Linked DNA regions of Homo sapiens: region 1 is linked to region 2. The links are contacts of gene promoters, found by promoter capture Hi-C in human tissues and cell types (Jung and others, 2019). All regions are on one chromosome and are shown on one strand. Each heading gives the region's core, a stretch centred on a gene start or on the middle of the fragment in contact. The rest is flanking DNA. Distances are from core to core; before and after follow the strand shown. Region 1 has its middle 30 kb from the start of PRSS23. Region 2 holds the start of CCDC81 (coiled-coil domain containing 81).

Region 1 (3,482 bases), core at 259-2,758, 460 kb after region 2:
ATTTGCCAGTCTGTGTCTTTTAATTGGAGCATTTAGTCCATTTACATTTAAAGTTAATATTGTTATGTGTGAATTTGATCCTGTCATTATGATGTTAGCTGGTTATTTTGCTTGTTAGTTGATGCAGTTTCTCCCTAGCCTCAATGGTCTTTACAATTTGGCATGATTTTGCAGCGGCTGGTACCGGTTGTGCCTTTCCATGTTTAGTGCTTCCTTCAGGAGCTCTTTTAGGGCAGGCTTGGTGGTGACAGAATCTCTCGGCATTTGCTCGTCTGTAAAGTATTTTATTTCTCCTTCACTTATGAAGCTTAGTTTGGCTGGATATGAAATTCTGGGTTGAAAATTCTTTTCTTTAAGAGTGTTGAATATTGGCCCCCACTCTCTTCTGGCTTGTAGAGTTTCTGCCGAGAGATCCGCTGTTAGTCTGATGGGCTTCCGTTTGTGGGTAACCCAACCTTTCTCTCTGGCTGCCCTTAACATTTTTTCCTTCATTTCAACTTTGGTGAATCTGACAATTATGTGTCTTGGAGTTGCTCTTCTCGAGGAGTATCTTTGTGGCGTTCTCTGTATTTCCTGAATCTGAATGTTGGCCTGCCTTGCTATATTGGGAAGTTGTCCTGGATAATGACCTGCAGAGTATTTTCCAACTTGGTTCCATTCTCCCCGTCACTTTCAGGTACACCAGTCAGATGTAGATTTGGTCTTTTCACATAGTCCCATATTTCTTGGAGGCTTTGTTCGTTTCTTTTTATTCTTTTTTCTCTAAACTTCCCTTCTCGCTTCATTTCATTCATTTCATCTTCCATCACTGATATCCTTTCTTCAAGTTGATCACATCGGCTCCTGAGGCTTCTGCATTCTTCATGTAGTTCTCGAGCTTTGGCTTTCAGCTCCGTCAGCTCCTTTAAGCACTTCTCTGTATTGGTTATTCTAGTTATACATTCGTCTAAATTTTTTTCAAAGTTTTCAACTTCTTTGCCTTTGGTTTGAATTTCCTCCTGTAGCTCATAGTTTGATTGTCTGAAGCCTTCTCTCAACTCGTCAAAGTCATTCTCTGTCCAGCTTTGTTCCGTTGCTGGTGAGAAGCTGCGTTCCTTTGGAGGAGGAGAGGTGCTCTGCTTTTTAGAGTTTCCAGTTTTTCTGCTCTGTTTTTTCCCCATCTTTGTGGTTTTATCTACTTTTTGTCTTTGATGATGGTGATGTACAGATGGGTTTTTGGTGTGGATGTCCTTTCTGTTTGTTAGTTTTCCTTCTAAGAGACAGGACCCTCAGCTGCAGGTCTGTTGGAGTTTGCTAGAGGTCCACTGCAGACCCTGTTTGCCTGGGTACCAGCAGCGGTGGCTGCAGAACAGGGGATTTTCGTGAACCACGAATGCTGCTGTCTGATCGTTCCTCTGGAAGTTTTGTCTCAGAGGAGTACTTGGCCGTGTGAGGTGTCAGTCTGCCCCTACTGGGGGGTGCCTCCCAGTTAGGCTGCTCGGGTGTCAGGGGTCAGGGACCCACTTGAGGAGGCAGTCTGCCCGTCCTCAGATCTCCAGCTGCGTGCTGGGAGAACCACTGCTCTCTTCAAAGCTGTCAGACAGGGACATTTAAGTCTGCAGAGGTTACTGCTGTCTTTTTGTTTGTCTGTGCCCTGCCCCCAGAGGTGGAGCCTACAGAGGCAGGCAGGCCTCCTTGAGCTGTGGTGGGCTCCACCCAGCTCGAGCTTCCCAGCTGCTTTGTTTACCTAAGCAAGCCCGGGCAATGGTGGGCGCCCCTCCCCCAGCCTCACTGCCACCTTGCAGTTTGATCTCAGACTGCTGTGCTAGCAATCAGCGAGACTCCATGGGCATAGGACCCTCCGAGCCAGGTGCGGGATATAATCTCCTTGTGCATCGTTTTTTAAGCCTGTCGGAAAAGCGCAGTATTAGGGTGGGAGTGACCCGATTTTCCAGGTGCCATCTGTCACCCCTTTCTTTGACTAGAAAAGGGAACTCCCTGACCCTTTGCGCTTCCCAAGTGAGGCAGTGCCTCGCCCTGCTTCAGCTCGCACATGGTGCACTGCACCCACTGACCTGTGCCCACTGTCTGGCACTCCCTAGTGAGGTGAACCTGGTACCTCAGATGGAAATGCAGAAATCACCCATCTTCTGTGTCGCTCATGCTGGGAGCTGTAGACCAGAGCTGTTCCTATTCGGCCATCTTGGCTTGACTCTGTAATATCCTATAGAAGTGTTGCTCCTCATATCACAGGGGCTATACACCCCGTAATATTATTCGTAATATCCTAGGGAGACATTACTACTAATATCACAGAGGTGTACACCCTTTAACATTATTTGTAATATCCTAGGAAGATATTACTCCTAATATCTCACTGGGTGTACACCCTGTGATATTATTCATGATATCCTAGGGAGATGTTCCTCCTAATGTCATCAGGGGTGTACACCCTGTGACATCATTTGAAATATTCTATGGGGATGTTACTTTTAAAGTCACAGGGGGTTTACAAACTGTGATATTATACATAATGTGCTACACGGATGTTACTCCTAATGTCACAGGCGTGTACACCCAGTGATATTATTTGGAATATCCTAGGGGGATGTTTCTCCTAATGTCAACGGGGTTTACAACTTGTAATACTATTCGTAATATCCTAGGCGGATGTTATTCCTAATGTCACAGAAGGTGTACACTCCGTGATATTATTTTTTATATCCTAGCAGGATGTTATTACTAATGTCACAATGCTTGTACACCCTGCGATATTATTCATAATATCCTAAGGGAATATTACTCCTAATGTCATAGCGGGTTTACACCTTTTTGTATTATTCGTAATATCCTAAGGGAATATTACTCCTAATGTCATAGCGGGTTTACACCTTTTTGTATTATTCGTAATATCCTAGAAAGTTGTTACTCCTCATGTCACAGGGTGTGTACACCCTGTGATATTTTTTGTAATATCCTAGTGGGATGATACTCCTAATGTCATAGCAGGTGTACCCCCTGTGAAATTTTTTGTAATAGTTTTGGGGGATGTTACTTTTAATGTTACACGTGGTATACACACCGTGATATTATTCGTAATAGCCTATAGAAATGTTACTCTTAATATCACCGGGGCTCTACACCCTGTAATATTATTCATAATATCCTAGGGGAATGTTACTACTAATGTCACAGGGGGTGTACGCCCTGTGATATCATTCCTAATATTCTAGGGGATGTTACTCCTAATGTCACAGGGGGTGTACACACTGTGATGTTATTCATAATATCCTAAAGGTATGTTACTACCAATGTCATAATGCTTGTACACCTTGTGATATTATTTCTAATATTCTAGAGAGATGTTACTCCTAGTGTCGCAGCGGGTATACACCCTGTCATATTATTTGTAATATCCTATGCCAGTGTTCCTCCTAATGTCACAGGTGATGTGCACCTTGTGATATTATTCACAATATTCCGGAATGATGTTACTCCTCATG
Region 2 (3,331 bases), core at 540-3,039:
TACAAAAATATATATGAATACGTATGCATACTTATATACTTATATTTGAAGGAAACAGGATTACATTATATAAAAATACTATGCTGCTACTGGTTTTCACTTACTATATTTTGAAACTTTTTCAACATCAGCACGTAAATGTGCAGTTTCCTTTTAAGTAAACTCTTGAAATGTATTCCAATGTATGTATTCACAATTTAACCAGTTCCCTATGATGGTCATCTTAGGCTAATTCTAAGAATTAACATTATAAACAATGTTGCATATACATATATCTTTGTATGTATCATGCTAATACATCCAATTTTATATCCAAATATATCCAAATTTGTAGCAGTGGAAGTACATAGTTTGCCTGAGTTTTAATAGCAACTGAAAAGTATGTATTTTCAGGATATATAATATTTATAGCTCATTAAAAGTTTCTAGTCAACACAGGGTTACATGTATCTACACAGCCTCTTTTGTCAAGAGACCTTTGACAAAAGGAAAGTAAAACCTTGGAAGAAAAGTCTTTGTCCTTATTCTTTTTACAGCTTCCTTTAGCCATCTACAATTCACTAATAATTAGCATCCACCACCATCTTCTGGAACTGAAGACAGCTTTTCTAGAGATTAAAAGTACCACTATATTTAATTCAAAATCTAATGTATTGTAAAACAATTATTTTTATAATTCCATTATCTTAATGTGGAACAATAATGCTGATATTGCCACTAAAAATTAGCTGGCATTATCTATTAAAATTGATCATATGCATTTCTCATGACCCATGAATCTACTCCTAGTTATATACACATCAGAAATGAGTACATCTATCTGTCAAAAGTGTTCTGTGAGACTGTTTGCAGCAGCCTTATTCCCAGTAGCCTCAAAGGGAAACAACGCAAATGCCCTTCAACAGTGGAATGCATAAATTGTGCCATACTCATAAAAAGGAATAATATGCAACAGTGTAAATGAAGAAATTATTACCATAGAAACTATGGATGAACCTCATAAACATAATGTGAATTTGAATAGAGCCAGACAGAAAAGGATACATACTATATGATTCCAAAGATTCAACAGGCAAAATGAATCTGCAGTATGTGTTGGCTAATGACTGGAGGGGTAATGAAGTGCTGATCTGTGCAATGTGCTAGCATTCTATTTTTTGACCTGGATGGGTTTTGCATAGGTATGTTCAGCTTGTGATAATTACCAGCAGAGGGGAGAGCATGCACGCAATTCTTCAGGATGAGATTGGTGACATGTAGAGAAAAGGGGGAAATGACTGTAGTTTAAAAAAAGTCAATTCCCTCCTCCCCACTTCTCCAGCTCTCCATTTCCTAGGAAGAGAGCCCAGGGAAAAGCAAACCAAGAAACAAATTCCAGCTCAAACTCAAACTCTCAAACAGATCTGGAGACTCAAATATCGATCTCTCTGGGCAAAAGGCATTCCTAGATTTGTCCAAGGTACAAAAACTACCACTCTAACCACGTTTCTTCGCTGCCCGGGGTCAGAGAAGTAAAAACCCATTATTTATTTATTTTTAAGTTACTTCCAACCTCGCTGCCTCGAGCTTCTGAATCGCCTGGGCAACCTGGAAGCCGCCCATCTAAGGGGGTGAGGTCGAATCCCAGCCTTGACGCCTTAGCAACCGAGCGAGCCTTTCTCGCGTCCCAGCAACGCGCCCTTCCCTCTGCCGGGCCTATTCTCCCTGGTGCCCCTCCCTTCCTCGAGGCTGCAGCTCACCCCTCATTGGGTCTCTCGTTGGTCAGGAGGGCGCGGGTCTGCACACTCTCACTCGGTGCCGGACATCAGTTCCTGCGGCTCTTGCTGTGGGAGCTGCCCGAGAGCCAGAGCAGTGGGGAGGGACGGCGAGAACCAATGTTTAAGTTTATTTAAGAAAGAAGAAAAAGAGTCAAGAAGTTCAAGATTTTCGTCACTCTTATTTTTAAGGCACATCCAAAGCTCCGTGGAGAAGGGGCTGGAGGGTGGGAAAATTATTTTTGTGCACATTCCATATAAGAAAGAAGAGACCCATCGAACATTCAGTACGGAGTCACCTGGAAATTGGAGATGTTGGATACGATCGCCCGTGCCCTGCAGGACCTGGGCAGGCAGGTGCTGCCCACTCTGCCCTCGCTGAGCCAGGAGGGTAAGCGTGTTGGGTAGCAGGGGGTGGCCCTGGGGATTGAATCTTCATCTGCTTGCAGGGGAGGCGGGGGGACCCACTTCCCAATTCCCTGGCTCAGGCCTGGCCTGCCGTGGCTAAGTTGCCTTGACAACCAGCTGGTAATCACATCCTGCCCACGTTGGACGCCCAGAGACCCTTTTCTGGTTTTGATTAAACCAGGGGATGCGTAGACAGCACAAAGTAAGTGCTCAATAAACGGACTAGCACAAAGTAAGTGCTCAATAAAGGTTAGGTAAAAACAGCCACTCCCACACCACTCGCTGGGATGGATCACAACCCTTTTGCCTACCTAGAGAAAAGAGATGCAGGGACCCTAAATGGCTCCTTTTGAGAGTTCATGCAAAGACGGTTGATTTTGTTGCCTTTGACATCATGCCGTTGTATTAAGAAAATGAGATGATCATAAAAAGCTACAGGGTAAGTACTTTGGAAGGGGACCTGGCACCTTCTCAGAGAAAACTCATTAGGCTTGGTTAGTAGCAAGACAAGATCTGTTTTTAGCATCGTTTGTAGAAGAGTCACCCCAAAGTGAGGCTGAGATCTGTCTGCAAACCACAGGAGAAGAGAGGTGCTGCAGGAATGCAAACTCATTATTATCAAACCATTGTAACTTAGAGATGTTGCTTAGGCTTTAACCAAATGACCGCAGAAAACAAATAGGAATGGCTGCTTCTTTCTCTTCCCCTGCATCACTCCTATCTTTTCCTCTCAAATCATCCTGAAAGATGCATTGAAGATAATGGCTTAATGAATTTAAAAACATTTGCTATATTTGTAAATTTATGTATAGTCATTCAAGGAATTCTGAAACCCTGCTATATGCTGAGCACTAGTTAACTTACGGTGAACAAACATCTTGGAATTTACTGTTTAGTGGGGAAGATGCACATTAATCAAATAATCACACAAATCAATGCAAATTTACAATTTAGGTAAATGATACCAGGGAGGAGGTAAATGGTACAGTAAGAACTTTTTTTAAAGATGATTTTTTAGGGTAGTTGTAGATTCACAGTAAATTAAGAAGGAGGGACAATATATTAGTTTATTTGTACACTGCTATGAAGATACTATCCCAGACTGGGTCATTATAAAGGAAAGAGGTTTAATTGACTCACAGTTCTTCATGGCTGGGGGAGCCCTCAGG

What was found. Contacts are between HindIII fragments. The study calls those that stand out against the background at their distance.
Region 1: a contact is called between a fragment that was not itself captured here and the fragment with the promoter of CCDC81 in region 2, in 1 of the 25 tissues and cell types used here (IMR-90 fibroblasts).

What each region holds. Positions count from the first base shown.
Region 1 is chr11:86,828,449-86,831,930 of GRCh38, forward strand. It overlaps a transcript of PRSS23 not described here. Among named protein-coding and RNA genes, the nearest start is that of PRSS23, 30 kb to the left of the region's middle. The HindIII fragment of the contact is 4,294 bases long and covers 1-3,482 here.
Region 2 is chr11:86,373,098-86,376,428 of GRCh38, forward strand. It overlaps CCDC81 (coiled-coil domain containing 81), which reads left to right and starts at 1,790. Exons shown (of 15, transcript NM_001156474.2): 1 at 1,790-2,145. The coding sequence starts at 2,067. All of the region lies in intron 2 of LOC105369421 (a long non-coding RNA gene), which reads right to left. RefSeq lists a silencer at 1,530-1,824. The HindIII fragment of the contact is 17,191 bases long and covers 1-3,331 here.